Regions from separate parts of the Homo sapiens genome. Here regions 2, 3, 4, 5, 6 and 7 are each linked to region 1. Evidence: promoter capture Hi-C in 16 types of primary human blood cells and fetal thymus (Javierre and others, 2016). All regions are on one chromosome and are shown on one strand. Each heading gives the region's core, a stretch centred on a gene start or on the middle of the fragment in contact. The rest is flanking DNA. Distances are from core to core; before and after follow the strand shown. Region 1 holds the start of KCNE2 (potassium voltage-gated channel subfamily E regulatory subunit 2). Region 2 has its middle 14 kb from the start of ATP5PO. Region 3 overlaps LINC00649 (long intergenic non-protein coding RNA 649). Region 4 overlaps LINC00649 (long intergenic non-protein coding RNA 649). Region 5 overlaps LOC105372790 (a long non-coding RNA gene). Region 6 overlaps CLIC6 (chloride intracellular channel 6). Region 7 holds the start of MRPS6 (mitochondrial ribosomal protein S6).

The links. Contacts are between HindIII fragments. The CHiCAGO score rates a contact against its expected background, and 5 or more counts as called.
Region 2: a contact is called between a fragment that was not itself captured here and the fragment with the promoter of KCNE2 in region 1, in 1 of 17 cell types (naive CD8 T cells). The highest score is 5.1, in naive CD8 T cells.
Region 3: a contact is called between a fragment that was not itself captured here and the fragment with the promoter of KCNE2 in region 1, in 3 of 17 cell types (neutrophils, total B cells and naive B cells). The highest score is 8.0, in neutrophils.
Region 4: a contact is called between a fragment that was not itself captured here and the fragment with the promoter of KCNE2 in region 1, in 3 of 17 cell types (naive CD8 T cells, total CD8 T cells and naive B cells). The highest score is 5.6, in naive CD8 T cells.
Region 5: a fragment that was not itself captured here is called in contact with the fragment with the promoter of KCNE2 in region 1 in 1 of 17 cell types (non-activated CD4 T cells); the score reaches 5.4 in non-activated CD4 T cells.
Region 6: a contact is called between a fragment that was not itself captured here and the fragment with the promoter of KCNE2 in region 1, in 1 of 17 cell types (M2 macrophages). The highest score is 6.4, in M2 macrophages.
Region 7: the fragment with the promoter of MRPS6 here is called in contact with the fragment with the promoter of KCNE2 in region 1 in 1 of 17 cell types (neutrophils); the score reaches 6.0 in neutrophils.

The regions. Positions count from the first base shown.
Region 1 is chr21:34,362,737-34,365,309 of GRCh38, reverse strand. KCNE2 (potassium voltage-gated channel subfamily E regulatory subunit 2) reads right to left here and starts at 1,304. Exons shown (of 2, transcript NM_172201.2): 1 at 1,159-1,304. All of the region lies in intron 2 of LOC105372791 (a long non-coding RNA gene), which reads left to right. The HindIII fragment of the contact is 16,740 bases long and covers 1-2,573 here.
Region 2 is chr21:33,900,871-33,903,443 of GRCh38, reverse strand. No RefSeq gene overlaps it. Among named protein-coding and RNA genes, the nearest start is that of ATP5PO, 14 kb to the left of the region's middle. RefSeq lists an enhancer at 1,068-1,663. The HindIII fragment of the contact is 694 bases long and covers 958-1,651 here.
Region 3 is chr21:33,939,319-33,941,891 of GRCh38, reverse strand. All of the region lies in intron 1 of LINC00649 (long intergenic non-protein coding RNA 649), which reads right to left. Among named protein-coding and RNA genes, the nearest start is that of LINC00649, 9.5 kb to the right of the region's middle. The HindIII fragment of the contact is 3,719 bases long and covers 1-2,573 here.
Region 4 is chr21:33,958,672-33,961,244 of GRCh38, reverse strand. All of the region lies in intron 2 of LINC00649 (long intergenic non-protein coding RNA 649), which reads right to left. Among named protein-coding and RNA genes, the nearest start is that of LINC00649, 29 kb to the right of the region's middle. The HindIII fragment of the contact is 3,817 bases long and covers 1-2,573 here.
Region 5 is chr21:34,025,117-34,027,689 of GRCh38, reverse strand. The region is part of intron 2 of LOC105372790 (a long non-coding RNA gene); the gene reads right to left. Among named protein-coding and RNA genes, the nearest start is that of MRPS6, 47 kb to the left of the region's middle. The HindIII fragment of the contact is 2,941 bases long and covers 1-2,573 here.
Region 6 is chr21:34,670,791-34,673,363 of GRCh38, reverse strand. The region is part of intron 1 of CLIC6 (chloride intracellular channel 6); the gene reads right to left. Among named protein-coding and RNA genes, the nearest start is that of CLIC6, 3.1 kb to the right of the region's middle. The HindIII fragment of the contact is 1,714 bases long and covers 448-2,161 here.
Region 7 is chr21:34,072,286-34,074,858 of GRCh38, reverse strand. It overlaps MRPS6 (mitochondrial ribosomal protein S6), which reads right to left and starts at 1,281. Exons shown (of 3, transcript NM_032476.4): 1 at 1,114-1,281. The coding sequence starts at 1,158. SLC5A3 (solute carrier family 5 member 3) reads right to left here and starts at 1,281. Exons shown (of 2, transcript NM_006933.7): 1 at 1,114-1,281. RefSeq lists silencers at 624-1,023, 1,314-1,833 and an enhancer at 420-1,370. The HindIII fragment of the contact is 10,607 bases long and covers 583-2,573 here.

The DNA.
Region 1 (2,573 bases), core at 55-2,554:
TATAGGTTAGAAATGGTCAAATATGGGCAATTCATGTGTATCAACCTAGGAGGACCTACATTTCCAGTGAATGCTTCTTGCTGAGTCCTAGCACAGGCTGGGCCCCTGGAGATCATTTAGGCTGGTTTGCTCTCTGATAGGTGGAATAACTATAGCCTAGAGGGCTTAAGTCACCTGTCCAAGATCACAAGCCTCTCAAGTTGGCCACAGTGCCTGGACTAGAACTCACATCACCCAAGCCAGTGTCCAGCACTGACTGTCCTAGCAGAGGTCACACATTCCAATAACTCACTGTTTTCATTGCTGTGACCAGTTGGCTCAACTGGGTACAAGACATAAGATCAAGACCATGATTTGAGCTTACACATGTCATTAGTTGTGCCCTGTCTCCAGGCTACAGAATGATCCCCTAATTCCAGCCATTCCTGTCATGAATGTGTGTTATTCATGACAACAGCAATCAGGACACTATTAGGAAAGTAACACTCATTTGACCCCAAAGTCCAGAGTTTTCTTTTCTTTCTTTTTTTTTTTTTTGAGATGGAGTCTCACTCTGTCGCCCAGGCTGGAGTGCAGTGGCGTGATCTCGGCTCACTGCAAGCTCCACCTCCCGGGTTCATGCCGTTCTCCTGCCTCAGCTTCCTGAGTAGCTGGGACTACAGGCGCCAGCCACCACGCCAGGCTAATTTTTTTTGTATTTTTAGTAGAGATGGGGTTTCACTATGTTGGCCAGGCTGGTCTCGATCTCCTGACCTCAGGTGATCCGCCTGCCTCAGCCTCTCAAAGTGCTGGGATTACAGGCGTGAGCCACCGCGCCCAGCCCCAAAGTTTTCTTTTCTTGAAACATGGTAGATCGCTCACATCACCTGGGCCTATAAAAGGCAGCAAAGTCTTTCATTTTTATATCAAGAAGAGAAAACAATATGATTACCTACGTTTACCATGAATCCTCCATTTTAAAAACTCTCAAAATTTTCATTCTAAGGCAATTAACAAAGAAATGAGTAAGGAAAACACAAGAAGGAAAGAAGGAAGAGTGGATGAGGAGCCAGGCCATGTACCAGGAAAATCATTCCTTTTATCATTTTCTGGAAAAGGCACATAGATAACTTTGTTACTTAATTCCTCAAAAAATAAAGAATGTGTGCTAAGACTTACCTATGCAGTGTGTGGGCAGGATGAAATTCCTTTCCAAAGCCAGGCTGTTCTGAACCTTCTTGCTGGCGTTAGCGAGCTCTCTTCTGGGTTGCACACAAGCCTCAGCCTGCTGGGCACCTTCACCTTACAACCATCTAAGCCCTTGCAACTGCAGTCTGCAATCCTATGCTTTTATGAACCCACATGTTTAATCTAATCGTATGTGGAAAGTTAAATACTAACTGGCAGTTGGAATTCACCTTGGTGCCTGATGGGGTGTGTGCCTCAGGGACTCTGGCTTTGGGCAGAGTGGCACAAGTTCCTGCTCTGGGACCCTTCCTGCCAGCTCCAGCCAGGGCAGGGCCTGGGTACAGTGAACATCTTTCCCCAGAAGAAGTCTTCCTCTTAGGGTAGGCTTGGGGGACAACAGCATTCCCTGCCAGAATACGTGGGAAGGGCTGGGTGGGGTGGCTCACGCCTGTAATCCCAGCACTTTGGGAGGCTGAGGCGGGCAGATCACCTGAGATCAGGAGTTCAAGACCAGCCTTGCCAACATGGTGAAACCCCGTCTCTACTTAAAAATGTAAAAATTAGCCAGGTGTGGTGGCACACACCTGTAGTCCCTGCTACTCTGGAGGCTGAGGCAGGAGAATCACTTGAATCCACAAGGCAGAAGTTACAGTGAGCTGAAATCATACCACGGCACTCCAGGCTGGGTGACAGAGTGAGACTCTGTCTCAATGAAAGAAGAAAGAAGAAGAGGAAGAGGAAGAGGAAGAAGGAAGAAGAAGGAAGAAGAAGGAAGAAGAAGGAAGAAGAAGGAAGAAGAAAGAAGAAGAAAGAAGAAGAAGACGATGTGGGAAGGACAGGGCCCCAGGGAGAGGAGCCAAGAACAGCCATCTCTGGGTGGTTGGTATGGGTTGAGGGGGTCAGTATAATTCCAGGCAAGTGCCGTGTTCTGAAGACGCTAAATAAGCTAGATTCTGGTAAATACTCCTCCACGGGACCACATCCAAATGAGTTTATAACAACATTGTTGTCTTGTAAAAGAGAAACGGGCTGCAAGGGTACTAAGGTACTACATGGAGGAGCTGGAAGTTAAGTCCAACAAAGAGGTTTTGAGGTTTTTGTTTGTTGTTGTTGTTTTGAAACAGAGTCTTACTCTGTCACCCAGGCTGGAGTGCAGTGGCGCAATCATAGCTCACTACAGCTTTGAACTCTTGGGCTTGAGGGATCCTCCTGCCTCAGCCTCCCAAGTAATGGGACTACAAGTGTGTACAAAGCCTGGTTAATTTTTATTTTTATTTTTGTAGAAATAGGGTCTTGCTGTGTTGCCCAGGCTGGTCTCAAACTCTTGGCCGCAAAGGATCCTCCAGCCTCAGTCTCCTAAGGCGGTGGGATTACAGGTGTGAGCCATGGTGCCTGGCCCCCAGCAA
Region 2 (2,573 bases), core at 55-2,554, 460 kb after region 1:
CACTGTCTTTTAAACTGGAATGTAGAAGGCTTTATTTTTATGTCCTTTTTTGGTATCCCCTGAGTATAAAGGCCAAAAAGCCCTTTTGGCCTAGAGAATTTGGTTTGAGTAGATTATGTTTAGGAATTAATTGGTTAGACACAGCACCTAACACATGGTCACTCAGCAAAGTCTATCTGGTCCTGCCTGCCAAAATCCCGTGTCTTTAAGGGTTTGTTCAGAGTTCCTGGTCCCTACTAGATCATCGGATCTGTGTTTGATCCATAGCCCTCCAGGGAGGCCTCTTGCCCTTGATCCTAACATGAACACACCTAGTTGTAGGCTGCTCTGTAGCTTTCAAGGCCATTTCATGTACATCTGAAGCTGCATGACAGCCTTGTCACACGGGTGGGAGAGACATCACCCCACTTTACAAATGAGGAAAGAGATTGAGGGGCCCTAGAGATGTGCTCAGAGTCACCTGTCTGGACAGCTGGTGTCAGGCCCTACAGCCCATGTTTTTACCACTGTATAACTAACACCATGCGCCGACACGTTGCTGGAGCAAACGGGCAAAAGTTACCTTAGGTAGGTCCCCTGCCCCTTCCCGCTTTGTCCCTAAGATGCTCCCAATTCACCTTTTAACCAAAACCAGTTCCCAGGTCAGCTCTTCCACTACATTTTACCTTTTGGTCTTCTAGAGAAAATAGTTACAGAGTTCCCCACGCAACAGCCCGCTCAGGTGCCTGTTCCTTAGTCAACCTCCAAGAACTTTTGGCCAACAAACCAGTTCCCTTCCCAGAACCACCCCTGGTTGGGCAGAGGCAGGACCATTGCAGCAAAGAAGTCCTACAGAGCAATGACATGGCCCAGCGCTGCTCCCTATGTGCTAGTGCTGGGACTGGCGTGCCCTCCATGTGGCACAACACTCCTGACACTCATGCTTGGCTTCAACTCCAGCTTCCTCCTGGCAAAGCTTTTAATACATGATCACCTAATGTGACAACCAACGGAGACACCACGTGGCCCCTCAGCCTTTCCAGGAACCAGGAGTGCTGAGGCCCCTCAACCTTTCCAGGAACCAGGAGTGCTGAGGCCCCTCAACCTTTCCAGGAACCAGGAGTGCTGAGGCTGCTGGCTGGCCCGAAGACCATTCAGCCACCTTTTAGGTGGGCCTAGGGCTACTCAGCTAGAGACCACATTCTTGAGCCTCTGGCAGCACCTGACCTTGGTGCTGAGTTCTGGCAAATGGGAAAGGAGAGGAAGCGAGGTGTGCCTTCCTGGACTGCCCTCTTGAGCAATCCTTAGTCCATCCCTCTAGCTAGATGCAGACAAGATGGCAAGCGATGCCAAGGGCAGAGCCACCCTGCCAAGCCTTACTGCTGCCCCTGGGCTGTTAAACACGATGAAGAAATAGACCTCTCTTCAAAGCCACGGGATATTGAGTTCTGTCTCCGCAGCTGAGTCTGCAACCTAACCATGACCACATTCCAGGTTCCCCCAGACTCACTGCCTGCCTCCTGCCTGCAGTGAGGCCTGCTCTGCAGAAGGTGGCGTCATACACACAATCACAGCTCCTACAGACATGTGACTGCCAATGGACAAACCGTCTTTGCGGGAGCCTCATGCTGCTGATGCTGCCCAGATCCTTCAGAGTCAAACTCAGCAAGCTTCCTGTTGATCAAGCACATACAATCTTGGGGAATGATGAGGCCCTTCATATGTCGCCTTACGAGGTCACCAGAGAGAACCTAGAGATCTATGTACAATGATTTGTTTTGTTTTTTGAGACAGTCTCACGCCATCACTCAGGCTGGAGTGCAGTGGCACGACCATGGCTCACTGCAACCTCAACCTCCTGGGCTCAAACCATCCTCCCACCTCAGCTGAAACTACAGGCAGTGAAACTAGAGGCAGTGCGACCACACCCAGCTAGTTTTCATATTTATAGTAGAGACAGGATCTTGCCATGATGCTCAGGCTGGCTTTAAACTCCTGGGCTCAAGTGATCACTGGCCTCAGCCTCCCAAAGTGCTGGGATTATAGGCTTGAGCCACCACACCCAGCCTACAATGATTTTCTTCACAGTATTTTTTTAAAATCAAGGTGAAAGTTTTACAGTCCCTTGTATATGGGATATTTTCGATGCATATTAGCTATTAAATAGTACAAGAGGCCGAGCGCAGCCAGGGTGACAAGAGCAAGACTCCGTCTCATAAATAAATAAATAGTACAAGAGTATTTAAAATGCACACACACACAAAAAATACAGAAATGAAGTGCATCAAAACCTTTATTTTTGTGTAGAAGAACATCTCCATTAAGTGATTTTATTTCCTTTGTGTTTTTCTTTCCTTGCTGAATTTTCTGCATTAACAAGTATTACTTCTGTAACAAGAAGAAAAACTAAATATTTGAGAATAAAAAGTATTGCCTTGATTATGCTGGCTACTAACCGTGGTTAAATAGGTAATAATTACATGTTTTGTACTAGTGATTCCATCCACTCTCTGGTCTGTGTGAGGGGGCCCTCATCAGACTTGGAGAGAACTAGGTATAGTTGGGAAAGTTAATTATTGCATTTGTTTTTAATG
Region 3 (2,573 bases), core at 24-2,523, 420 kb after region 1:
TTTGCTTTTTTGACAGTAAATCCAATCTCATAGGAGGTTTCGAGAATCTTCTTGTCCAGATTACACCCAAAAGTTAAACTCATGAGAGACGCAGCATAAAACAGTGACCTGTTGCCAGAACTCCTCTAAGATTTTTTCTTTTTTCTTTTTTTGAGATGGAGTCTCACTCTGTCACCAGGCTGGAGTGCTGTGGCATGATCTCGACTCACTGCAACCTCCAACTCCATGGTTCAAGCCATTCTCCTGTCTCAGCCACCCAAGTAGCTGGGACTACACGCGCATGCCACCACGCCCAGCTAATTTTTTGTTTTTTTTTTTTTGTATTTTTAGTAGAGACAGGGTTTCGCCATGTTGGCCAGGATGGTCTCGATCTCCTGACCTCGTGATCCGCCCACCTCAGCCTCCCAAAGTGCTGGGATTACAGGCATGAGCCACCGCAACCGGCCTCCTCCAAGATATTCTTAGGTGTACCAGGTGAAGACTAGCTGTGGTTGTGAATGAAATCAACTAATCTACAAATATTTCCAGACCCCTAACAAGTACAAGGAATTGCACTGTGCCCTGTGTCAGGAGGTCAAAGGCATGATCCTGGTCTCCGAGAAACTTGCAATCTAGCTGAGCCACAAAGACATAAACATATGCAAAGTGGATTAACAACATGTGCCCAGAAGCGTGATATTGGGACACACGCCATGTGCTGCAGTGGCAAAGGGAGTTTGTTTAGGAAGCCATGAGAGCCAAGAAGTGGACAGAAGGTGAAGGAGGCTCCCGGGGTCTGGGCCTGAAGGCAGTGGGGAGCCACTGTGGGTTTTTTCAGCAGGGCAGTGACGTGATGAGATCTGTATTTCGGGAAGATTAGGTCAGTGGAATGTACAATCCTACTGGAGCAGGAAGAGACTAAAGAGAGAGGAAAACAATTGCAATAAAGGCCCAGTGGAAAGAACACTGGGTGTCAGGTGTGGCTCAGACACCAGGCAGGCCACTCCAAACATGCCACTTCTTCTGCCTGGCACCAGCTGCCTCCCCTGACAAGCGAGAGAGTTAGGCTACAATCTTTAAGGTCCTTGTCAGCTGCTAAAATTCTTTAGTTCCACGATCCAGGTAGGAGTGCTAAAGGCCCGAACCAGTGTGCTGACAATGATGAGGGCAGAAAGGATTTTATTCTAGCAAATGCCTCACGGCAGAAGCTACTAAATCATCTTCAACACAGGCACCCACACAATGAAGTCATGTTTTTTTCTCTTACTCTTATTTTAACCCCACGGGAGGCTTATGCAGCGTTTTCTTTTTACTTTTTTTTTTTTTAATTGAGATGTAGTTTACACACTATAAAATTTCTCTCTGAAACTATACAATTTAGTGTTTTTAGTATAGTCACAAAGTTGTGCAACCATCACCGTTAATTCCAGAATATTCATCACCCCAAAAAGAAATCAACTAACTAAAGCTAATGCCTTACCCGTTAGCAGTCACTTCCCTTTTCCCTTCCCCGGACCCTGGAAACCACTCATCTGCTTTCTGTCTCTACGGGTTTGTTTTTCTGCTGACACGTCATATAAATGGAATCATACAAGTAGACTTTTGTGTCATCTGGCTTCTCTCACTCAGCATCATCTTTTCTTTTCTTTTTGAGCCATAGTTTTGCTCTCGTCACCCAGGCTGCAGTGCCATGTCACGATCTCGGCTCACTGCAACCTCCGCCTCCTGGGTTCAAGTGATTCTCCTGCCTCGGCCTCCTGAAGTAGCTGGGATCACAGGCGCCTGCCACCGTGGTCAGCTAATTTTTTTTTTTTTTTTTTTTTTTGTATCTTTAGTAGAGACAGGGTTTCACCATGTTGGCCGGGCTGGTCTTGAACTCCTGATCTCAGGTGATCCACCCACCTTGGCCTCCCAAAGTGCTGGGCTTACAGGCGTGAGCCACTGCGCCCGGCCAGCATCATCTTTTCAGGGTGGTAGCATGTGTCAGTACTTCATTCCTTTTTATGGCTGAATAATATTCCATTGTATGGATATGCCAGATATTGTTTACTCATGCATCCATTGATAAATATGTGAGTGGTTTCCACTTTTTTTCCAGTGCAGTGAATCTTATTCTCTGGTTTACCAGCAGAAAGCTGTCACATGAGCTTCCATTATTTGAATTGTTTAAAAAGTGGAACTTGGGGGTGAAGGGGAGTGTGATCACTTCTGGACAGAACAATCGTGTCTTCATCTGCATCAATATTCATTCTGGTAAGTCTTACCAGAGATACTACTGGGGGAACTGAAACATTTGTACCTCCAAAAGAGTGTGTGACTTTAAGTGAAAATTGCTGAGCACCAAAGCCCATTCCATGGATTTTAAAATGCCACGGGATTAGGGGTAATCTTTAGCTTTTATGTTCTGCCAGTGAGAGGGCATTGAGTTTGTAGATTCCCAGGCATGACTGAAGCCAAGTCTCAGCTTATGTGGAACTCGCTTTTCATTCTGTAAACAACATACTCAGGCCTGTGCGTATCAGAGTTTCAGCTTTACTTCTTTTCCCACAGTCCAAGCTGTTGATTTCCTCACTGTATTTTTATGAGTTAGAAAA
Region 4 (2,573 bases), core at 51-2,550, 400 kb after region 1:
AGCCAGGTGAATCAGTCTAGCTAATAACAGCTCATGTTCGTTAAACAAGTCCTATGTGCCAAGCATTTTGCCATTACTTAGGTACAATATTACATTTATTCCTCAAAATAAACCCTTAGAGTTAGGCAATGTTATAATTATTTTACTGTTGAAGTCTTCTGAGGTTTAAGAAAGTTAAAGTCCTTTGGACGTGATTACCAGGTAAGAAGTAGAATTTGGGTTTAAGAAGTCTGATTCCAGATCCTAAGCTCTGGCCCCACACCAGGGACTAGAAGGAAAAAGATGAGACATCAGTCTGGAGCCAGGCATCTAAAGATCTCATATACCCATCTAAAGGGCATTGATTCTTTTTATTTTTAGTTGATATGCAATAATTGTACATATTTATGGGACACAGAGTGATATTTTGATACATGTGTACAATGTATAATGATCCAATCAGGGTAATTAGCATATCCATCACCTCAAACATTTATCATTTTTTTGTGTTGCAGACAATCAAAATCCTCTCTTTTAGGCTGAGCACAGTGGCTCATGCCTATAATCCCAGCACTTTGGGAGGCCGAGGTGGGAGATCACGAGGTCAGGAGCTCACAAGGTCAGGAGATCAAGACCATCCTGGCCAACATGGTGAAACCTGTCTCTATTGAAATACAAAAAATTAGCCAGGCATGGTGGTGCAAGCCTGCAGTCTCAGCTACTCAGGAGGCTGAGACACGGGAATCTCTTGAACCCAGGAGGTGGAGATTGCAGTGAGCCAAGATCATGCCACTGCACTCCAGCCTGGGCAACAGAGCAAGACTCTGTCTCAAAAAATAAAAAAAAAAAGAATCGCTACAGAGCTGCAGAGGCACAAGAGGCTGAGGCACAAGAATTGCTTAAACTCAGGAGGCAGAGGTTGCAGTAAGCTGAGATCACTCCACTTCACTCCAGCCTGGGTGACAGGGTAAGACTCTATCTCAAAAAAAAAAAAACCTCTCTTCCAGCTTTTTGAACATGTACATTTAATTATTGTTAACCATATTCACCCTAAAATGCCGTAGAACACTAGAACTTATCCCTCCCATCTTACTGTAACTTGTATCTATTAACCAATCTTTCCTTTTTCCTCCCTAGAGGACTAGAATATTTATGTAAAAAATCATCCAATCACCTTTTATTATTATTATAAATATTTCAAACATATAGAATATAATAGCAAGTAACAGAATTAACTCACAGGTATCTACCACTTGGTTCTATCATTTCATCATATTTGCTTTATATTGTTTCCTTTTTTAACCTATGTCATATTTAAATTAGCTTTTTGTAGACAGCTTATATTTGAGTCTTCTTTTTTATCCAATCTGACAATCTCTGTTTTTTTAGTGGTATGTTTAGCTCATTTACATTTAATGTAATTATTGGTATGGTTGAATTTATGTCTATTATTGTATTATGTGGTTTCTGTTTGTCCTCTGTGTGTTTTGGTTCTGTTCCATTGTTCCTGCCTTCTTTTGAATTACTTAAAGTTTTTAGTATTTCATTTTAATGTATCTGTTGCCTTTTTTGGCAATATCTCTTTGTGTGTGTGTGTGTGTGTATAGTGACTGTTCTAGATATTGCAATATGCATTCCTAGTGTTTTACAGTCTACTTCAAGTTACTATTTTACCAATTCAAAGTAAAATGTAGGAGCCTGACAAACATATACATACTTTTACCCTCCCCCTTTATGTTATACCTGTCATATGTTTATATCTATATACATTGAGAACCTCACCAATGTTATGATTTTTGCCTTCAACAGCCATAAATATTTAAAGAATTTAAAAGGATAAAAATAGGGTATTTTATTTAGCTCAATATTTACCATTTCTGTTGCTCTTCCTTCATTCCTGAAGTTTCAAGTTTCCCTCTGGTATCATTTACCTTCAGCCTGTAAGACTCTCTTTAGCATTTATTTTAGAGCAGGTTTAATACCAAAGAATTCTCTCACTTTTTCTTAATCTGAGAATGTATTTATTTTACCATCATTCCTGAAGGATATTTTTTCTGAATATAGAATTCTGGGTTAAAAGCTCCTTTCTTTAAGCACTTTAAAAATGTTATTCTACTGTCTTCTAGCCTCCATGGTTTCTGGTGAGAAATACTCAGTCATATGAATCCTTGTTCCCCTATATATAATGTGTTACTTATTTCTGGCTGCTTTCAAGATTTTTCAATTATATCTGGTTTTCAACAGTGTGTGATGCATCTGGACATGATTTCCTTTTGGTTTATTCTGTTTGAGACTTGCTGAGCTTCTTAAATCTACAAATGTATGTTTTTCCGAAATGTAAGACATTTTCAGCTATTAATTCTTCAAATATATATTTTTTTCATAATCCAGTCTCTTTTCTCTTTCCTTTTGGTGCTACAAGAACAAGAATGTCAGACCTTTTGGTCTTGTACCACAGGCCACTGAGATTCTATTAATTTTTTTCAATCATTTTTTCTCTCTGTCCTTGAGACCAGATAATTTTTATAGATACATCTTCAAGTTCACTGACTCCTCTGCCATCTCCATTCTGCTATTAAGCCCATTCAATGAGT
Region 5 (2,573 bases), core at 49-2,548, 340 kb after region 1:
TGATCCAGCAATCCCACTTCTAGGGATATATCCAAAAGAAATGAAATCAATATCTTGAAGATGCATATGCACCCCCATGTTTATTGCAGTATTATTCACAATAGCCAAGACATGAAATTAAACTAAGTGTCCATCAACAGATAAGTAGATAAAGAACATATGATACATACATGTCACATACGAATACACTGGAATATTATTCAGCCTTAAAAAGAGAAGGAAATCCCAACATTTTGAACAACAGATAAGTCTGGAAGATATTGCGCTAAGTGAAATAAGCCAGACACAGAAGGATAAATATGACATGATCTCACTTACGTCTAAAAAAAAGTGGAACTCATTGCCGGCATGCCCACGCCTGTAATCCCAGCACTTTGGGAGGCCGAGGATCACCTGATGCCAGGAATTCGAGACCAGCCTGACCAACATGGTGAAACCCGGTCTCTACTAAAGATACAAAAATTAGCTGGGCGTGGTGGCATGCACCTGTACTCCCAGCTACTCGGGAGGCTGAGACAGGAGAGTCGCTTGAAACCGGGAGGCGGAGGTAGCAGTGAGCCGACATCGCGTCACTGCACTCCAGCCTGGGTGACAGAGGGAGACTCCGTCTCAAAAACAACCAAAAGAAAAGTGCAACTGATAAAAGCAGAGAGTAGCATGCTGGTTGTCAGGGGCTGAGGGGGCAGTGGGAGAAATGGAGAAATATTGGTCAAAGGGTACAAAGTTCCAGTTATAGAGGAGCAGTGCATTCTGGGGAGCTAATGTGCAGCATAGTGACTATAGTGAGTAATACTGTATTGAATATGCTAAATTTGCTAAGAGAGTTGATCATTAAGTGTTCTCACCACTTAAAAACAGACACAAATAGTAACTATGTAAGGTGATGGATATGTTAATTAGTTACTTAAAATAGGTAGGTAGTTAGAGGGATGGATAGATAGATAGATTATAGATACATAGGTAGGTAGATAGATAGATTAGATAGATAGATAGATAGATAGATATAAATAGAAGATAGATAGATAGATATAAATAGAAGATAGATAGATAGATAGATAGATAGATAGATAGATAGATAGATAGATAGATATAAATAGAAGATAGATAGATAGATAGATATAAATAGAAGATAGATAGATAGATAGATAGATAGATAGATAGATAGATAGATAGATATCGATAGAGGAGAGGGCTGGGCATGGTGGCTCATACCTGTAATCCTAGCACTTTAGGAGGCCGAGGTGGGCAGATTGCCTGAGCTCAGGAGTTTGAGACCAGCCTGGGCAACATGGTGAAACCCCGTCTCTACTAAAATACAAAAAATTAGCTGGGCAAGGTGGTGTGTGCCTGTAATTCCCAGCTACTCACGAGGCTGAGGCATGAGAATTGCTTGAACCCGGGAGGTGGAGAAGGTTGCAGTGAGCTGACATCACACCACTGCACTCCAGCCTGGGAAACAGAGTGAGACTCTGTCTCAAAAAAAAAAAAAAAATCTCAAGATAGATAGATGATAGATAGATAGATAGATAGATAGATAGATAGATAGATAGATAGATGATAGATAGATAGATCATTTGGTAGATCGTTCGATAGATTTCATTGACATCTTCTAGCTACTGTAGACTTCTCTCTCTCCCTGCGTAGCCAGGCTTGGGGAGACTTGCTTAGACCTGGTCTCCATTTCTCCCCCTGTCATTAGCTTTACCACCCTCTCCAGTCTGAGTCTCCCTCACTGCTAGACTGAAGCTAGTTTTACCACGGTTTCTTATGACTTCCTTGTTGCTACATCTGTGGATACTTTCCCTTCCTGTATTAGTTTTGTAGGACTGCTATAACAGATTACCACAAACCAGGTAGCTTGAAACAGCAGAAACATATTGTCTCACAGTTTGGGGGCCAGAAGTCTAAAATCATGGTGTTGACAAGGCCACGCTCCCTCTGAAGGCTCTCGGGAGGGAGACTTCCCTGCCTCTTCCTAGTCCTGGTGGTTGCCCTCCTTCCTTGGCTTTCCTCGGGTTATGGTGGCATCATGCCAAACTCTGCCTCTGTCTTCACATTGCCTTGCTTGTGTCTCCGTGTCCAAATTTCCCTCTTTTTATAAGATTAGGGCCCACCCTAATCTAGCATGACCTCATCTTTACTTGATTATATCTGCAAATTCATGACCTCTAAATGAGGTCACAGGTACCAGAGATTAGAACTTCCACATTTCGTTTTGGGGGACACATTTTAAACCCATAACACTTTTATATCTAACTTGACCTGGCAAGCCCTTCTCTCCTTGCGATACCATCTATTCCTGGTCCTCCTTAGACCCCCTCGAAATCTTTTTCCCACATTCCTTCTTGGGCTTCTCTCCTTCTGTCCATCCTTCTGCCATTAGTGTCTTCTGGGGCTTTTCCTAAGCCTACTCCTTTTCTCTCTTAGCTGGAAAATTCCAAACATCTATGGCTTCAGTTGCCATTTCTAGACTGACTCACACAGAAACGCTCACAAAACATACTCAGCTAAAAGTTCCACACTGAAAACTCATCATCTTCATCCCAAACTTGCTTCTGCTGCTGTCTTCCCCA
Region 6 (2,573 bases), core at 55-2,554, 310 kb before region 1:
GAGCTGAGATAGCACCACTGCACTCCTGTCTGGGTGACAGAGCAAGAACCTGTCTCAATTAAAAAAAAAATAAAAAAGTTAACCAATCTCATCATTTGGAGATCTATCTGTTTCCTTAAGAAAAAAAAAAGTTAGCAACTGAGCACCAGATCAATCATCAGAATAAAGCATTGTGGGTAAGCTGCTCGTGCTGGGCCGCTGCTGGTGCTAGGCCACATGCTTCTGCCCACACAAACTCCTCCCAAGCAGTATTTGAGGAAGCAAGTTGTTTTTACTTTTCACAACATTCTTATCCCTAGAGATTGGAGGTAATTACGTACCTAGAGGGATTTTCCCTAAAAATAAATAAAATAAGTAATGGCAGGGATAACTGTTTCTGTGCAAAATCAGTGCAAGTTATGCGAGCAGCACAGATGTAACAATAGGAACTCACATGTGTACTAAGCTTATTTCCAGCCAGGCACTTTTCTAAGTGCTTTGTGTAATCTAATTCTCAATTTCTCACGGTAACCTCAAGGGCTAGGTACTATTACCGTCCCCATTTTATCAATGAGACCACAATGATACCAAAAGATTAAGTAACTTGCCCAAGGTCACACGGCAAGAAATTAGCAAAGCCAAGATTTGATCCCAGACCCACTGGCTCTAAAGTCCGTGTTCTTGATCACCACACTATCCAGCAGCTAGCCGCCCATTCAAGCCTTCACCACATCCCACACCTGTGTTCTGCGCTGGAGATAGAATGATGAATTTCACACAGCTGAGGAAAGAGACATAGCAGGCTGAGGGCAATGCCTTAACAGGGTCATCCGACTGGGACTGGAAGATATGACATCCATGCTAACTCTTGGACTTGTGGCAGATAACTAGGCAGGAGGGCAGACAGGGGCGAGGAGGAGAAACTCCATTCAGACAGAGGGTACATAATGTAGAAAGTTTCAAGGCAGGAAAGAACGTGGCTCCCTCAAGGAACAGTAAGTAGTTTAATCCAGGTGGCATAGCGAGACCACAGGTAACAAAGGGTGGGGACACCCAGCAATGCCAAGGCCAGAAAGAAAGAAGGCAGAAATAACATCACAAAGGGCCTTGTGGGCTGCCTAAGGAGTGGGGATTTACCTGAAATTCTGCAATAAACAACTGAAGAATTTTACACAAAGAAATAAAATGATCAGATCTTGTCCGCAGCTCACTGGCTATTACAAAGAGACTAGATTGGAGAGGACAGAGAACTGAAACAGGGAGACTAGCCAGAAGCTGCTACTGTCCATCAAAACTGTGCTAAGAGGCCGTGTGCCAGAATCATGTATCCTTACAACCACAGCAACGGGAAATTTCTAAAACCAAGGTGATGGAGAGGAGCAGATTTGGGGTCACACAGCAGCACTGCGCTCCAGCTCTTCCCAGCAGCCTCTCAGGGGCTGGTGTCCTGAGGTTATGTCCCAGGGTCTTGAAAAAAGCCAGAAACAGCACCTTCTCACTAGGGAAGAAACACACACACACCCCTTCTTTCCCAAGCCCCTCGCCACCCAAACAATTCTTAAAATTCTGATGTTAATCACATTGGGAGCATTTCCTTTTACTTATTAAAATGTGCTTGCATTTCAGCCAGAGAGATTTAGATGGTAACTGGTTTCTATAAGCCTGGAAGTATTTCTGAAGGATTATGATTCAACATGAAATGCACATTCTTGACCTTATTATCTCCAACTTTCCTGGGTCTGGCCAAAGGTCCTCAGAAAAGGCTTTTTAAACAAAGATCCTGGTGTGAACTGCTGCTGAGCTTTGTTCTTTCATTTTTCATGCCTTGTAAATAATTCCTGTTTAAATTCAAAACTTCCTCAGTTGTGTCTCTACAGATTCCTTCACAGAATCCTTGCTCTCTTCCCATGTGAACTGAGGTTAAAAACATGACATACAAGCAGATGATGTTCAAGTCACCGGCATCTTGTATTCTTCCAAATTCAATGTTAAAACGTTCAAAAAACATTATGTCAATAAGGCTCCATTCCCCCCTAAACGTACATTGTTGATTCTACCAAAATGGAATACCTTTTTGGAGTTGAAAACATTGACCAGCTCTGGGTCTCCGAGATTGAGTCTGGAAGGCACCTCCCACATTGAACCTACCTGTCTGCGTTTTTTGGCTTCAAGTATTAAAGCTTCCTTTGGCAGAAATCCCTTTGAACACCAATAGGGTGCGTTGCTTTTCTTCTTCTTCTTCTTTTTTTTTTTTTTTTTTTTTAACTTTTTAGTTAATTCGTTAATAACCTCCTGACTAGGAGGGCTGGTTAGGATGTTCAGGTCAAAGGACAGTGGGATGCTGAACCCACAACCCCACATCCTCATTGGCCCCCATCGCACTCCCCGTCGCCCCCACCCCCAAAGTCTTTGCTTCCAAACCATTGAGTCCTCCCGCAAATGCCCTGGAAACTCTTCTCCGGGAAATCCCGGCTGTCCCGCCTACCGCCCGCGCATGGAAGCGCCTGATGACAATCAGGATACCACCAAGGGTTCCTCCCTGCGCGTCCCTCTGGGATCTGAGATGACCAAGACCTCGAATGGAAGGGGGTCGT
Region 7 (2,573 bases), core at 32-2,531, 290 kb after region 1:
ATTGTTAGTTTATCAATTGAGCTTAAGTTCAACCAAACTTGGTAATACTCCTCGCAATTGACCTGGAGCCTAATTTCAAACGTAAAAATGCGTCCACTCCTCTAGCGCTGTAGGAAGCTGTGCTTACAAAGTTCGGACGTGGTACAATGATTTTTGTTTTATTACACCTGGTGGAGAAAAAAAAACATAACACCAAACTACGTTACCGAATTCCGAATTCACGGGAGAATGGGGATTTCGGCGACGACTTGAGGAGTACATGACCCAGGACAGAGGACGAAGTGAGCTGCCTCCGGGCCGCGGGCCCCTGTCCTTGGCCACGCCGTCACCTGAAAGGGGCCGCTGGTTCGCTTAGCATCCCTCCAAACCTGAAATCCCCTACCTCAAGATCAATCAAAAGCAGGGGGAAGAAAGTGTCTTCTGGAGGCGCAAGAAAGGCCACAACTTGGATGAATGAAACTGGGCTAAGGGCACCCGGAGCGGGATTTTCGCTGAAGTCAGAAAAAGAAAAGTCAAAAGATTTTTTTTTAACATGAGAGCGATTGCAAGAGACTGGAATACAGACAACGGCACAAACAAGCTTTGGAGGAACGCTTTATTGGGCGCGGACGTTCCGGGCGGCCGGCGGGCGCTAGAGCGGAGGCGGTCGGCGGCAGCCGGCGGGCGGCGGAGCGGGACGGACCAGGCGGCGGCGGCGGGGCCGGCGACGAGGCAGCTTCACGACTGGCGGGGACGGGCCGGAGTCGGGCTGGGCGCCCGCGCGTGTCCTCCCGCGGACCTTCCACTGGACTCCCGCGGGCCGGCGCCGGGATCGGGGTCGGGGCCCGCTCGGTCCGCCCCGCCCCCCGCCCGGCGGGCCGCTTGCGAGGCACACCCTCCCGGACCGCGCACACGCGCAGGCACACCCCCGCCTCCCGCGCGCACGCGGCCGGGCCCGGCCGGCCCACGCGCGCCCCCTTCCCGCGGACGCCCGCCGCCCGCCCGCCGCCCCGGCCTCCTCCGAGGAGTGCAGGAAGGCCCGGGGTCCCGCGGCCAGGGCGCGCGGGGGACGGCGGCCTAGCGGCAGCGGGGGCGCCCGCGCGGGAAGACCGGCTCTGAGGGAAGGTCACTTACCCGCTGCATGGCTTTCAGGATTAAAGCCAGCTCGTAGCGGGGCATGCCTGGAGGATCGGCGAGTGCGGCTCGGAAGCCAGCCGGTTCCCGGGACGCGAAGGGGCGGGACGGCGGGGACAGTGGGGACCTAGAAACTGCTGCGCCGGACGGCTCCCAGGCGGCGAAAGCACGGTCCGAGAGCGCGAGCCCGGGCTTAAAGGCGCTGGCAGCTGCGCAGACGCCGCGCCACGCCCCCTCGGCGCGCCCCGCCCCGCCCGCGCGCCTTGCCGCCGCCCCGCCCCCTCTCCGCCCGCGGGCGGCCGCCACGCCCCCTCCGCAGCCCCGCACCCGCCGCACCGCCCCCGCCCCGACCCCAGCCCAGCCCGCCGGCCGCGGCTAGGGGCGGTGCTGCAGACGCGGCCCAGAGCGGCTCGCGGCGGCCGCACGCCCCCTCGCGACCCTGCCTGCCCCTACCCCGCCTCCTGCCATGCCTGCTACCTAGCTCTCGAACCGGCTGGAACTTTCCATGCCTTCCTTCTCCTCCCGGGCGGCGGGCGAGTGAGTGCCCGCCAGTGCGCGTGCGCTGCGGTGCGGTCTCGTCCGTGCGCGTGCCCCTCGCCCGCGACTCCCCGGAGCTAGGGACCTTCGCGGCGCAAGGCGGGGTCGCGGCCGGCCCGGGGGCTGTGCGGCCAACGGCTGCTCGCAGGGGTTCTGGAACATTCCCGCCCGGGGTCGGTAGGGGGGTGCAGCTCTCGCCCCCAGCCACAACTCTCAGGTCTGACGCGGCTGACCAGGCCCCCTACCCGGCGAGGAGCGCGCTGGCACAGGCCGTGGGCCGCGGCGCGCGGGCTCGGGTCTGACTCAGTCCCTTGGCACTGCGTGACCTTGGGCCTGCTGCCTGTGCCGAAAGTGGGGACCCGAGTGAGTTACTGCACGTTAACCTCCGAGGACGGTGCCTGGTACACACAGGCGCGATACGGGCATTTGTGGTGTGCCCCTGACCTGCCCCCACGTGTTTCAGCGGAGGGCAGGCGAACACCTTAACTCTATCTCATTTCTTTAAATGTTTCCTCCGCTTTCACTTAAAGGCTAGGCTGAGTGCCTGGGAGACCCTTTAGCAACTGTCTAAGGTGGGCAGGGGCATACGTTCTGCCCTTGCCATCCCTTTACACCCACATGGTTCTCCGCCCTCCAGCCAGGGGCTCTGCAAGTGCAGTTTTCTCCAGCGCCCTTCCTTAGAGGTTGAGTACCCTGCAGCTGAGGCCTCTGCCCCTTGTTTGCCCCATTAAAAGCTCTGTACGTGGAGTGTTTGTCAACTTAAAGTGCTTTAACGTTAATAGGTAAAGTTTAGTGAACACTTACTCTGCATCAGGCCCCATGCCAAGGCTGGTGGATGTGTCTCCTAAAATTCTCACAACAGCCCTGAGGTGACAAAGATTCTTTGCTTGGCCAAACTTTAGTCAGGCTTCTGAATCTCATGC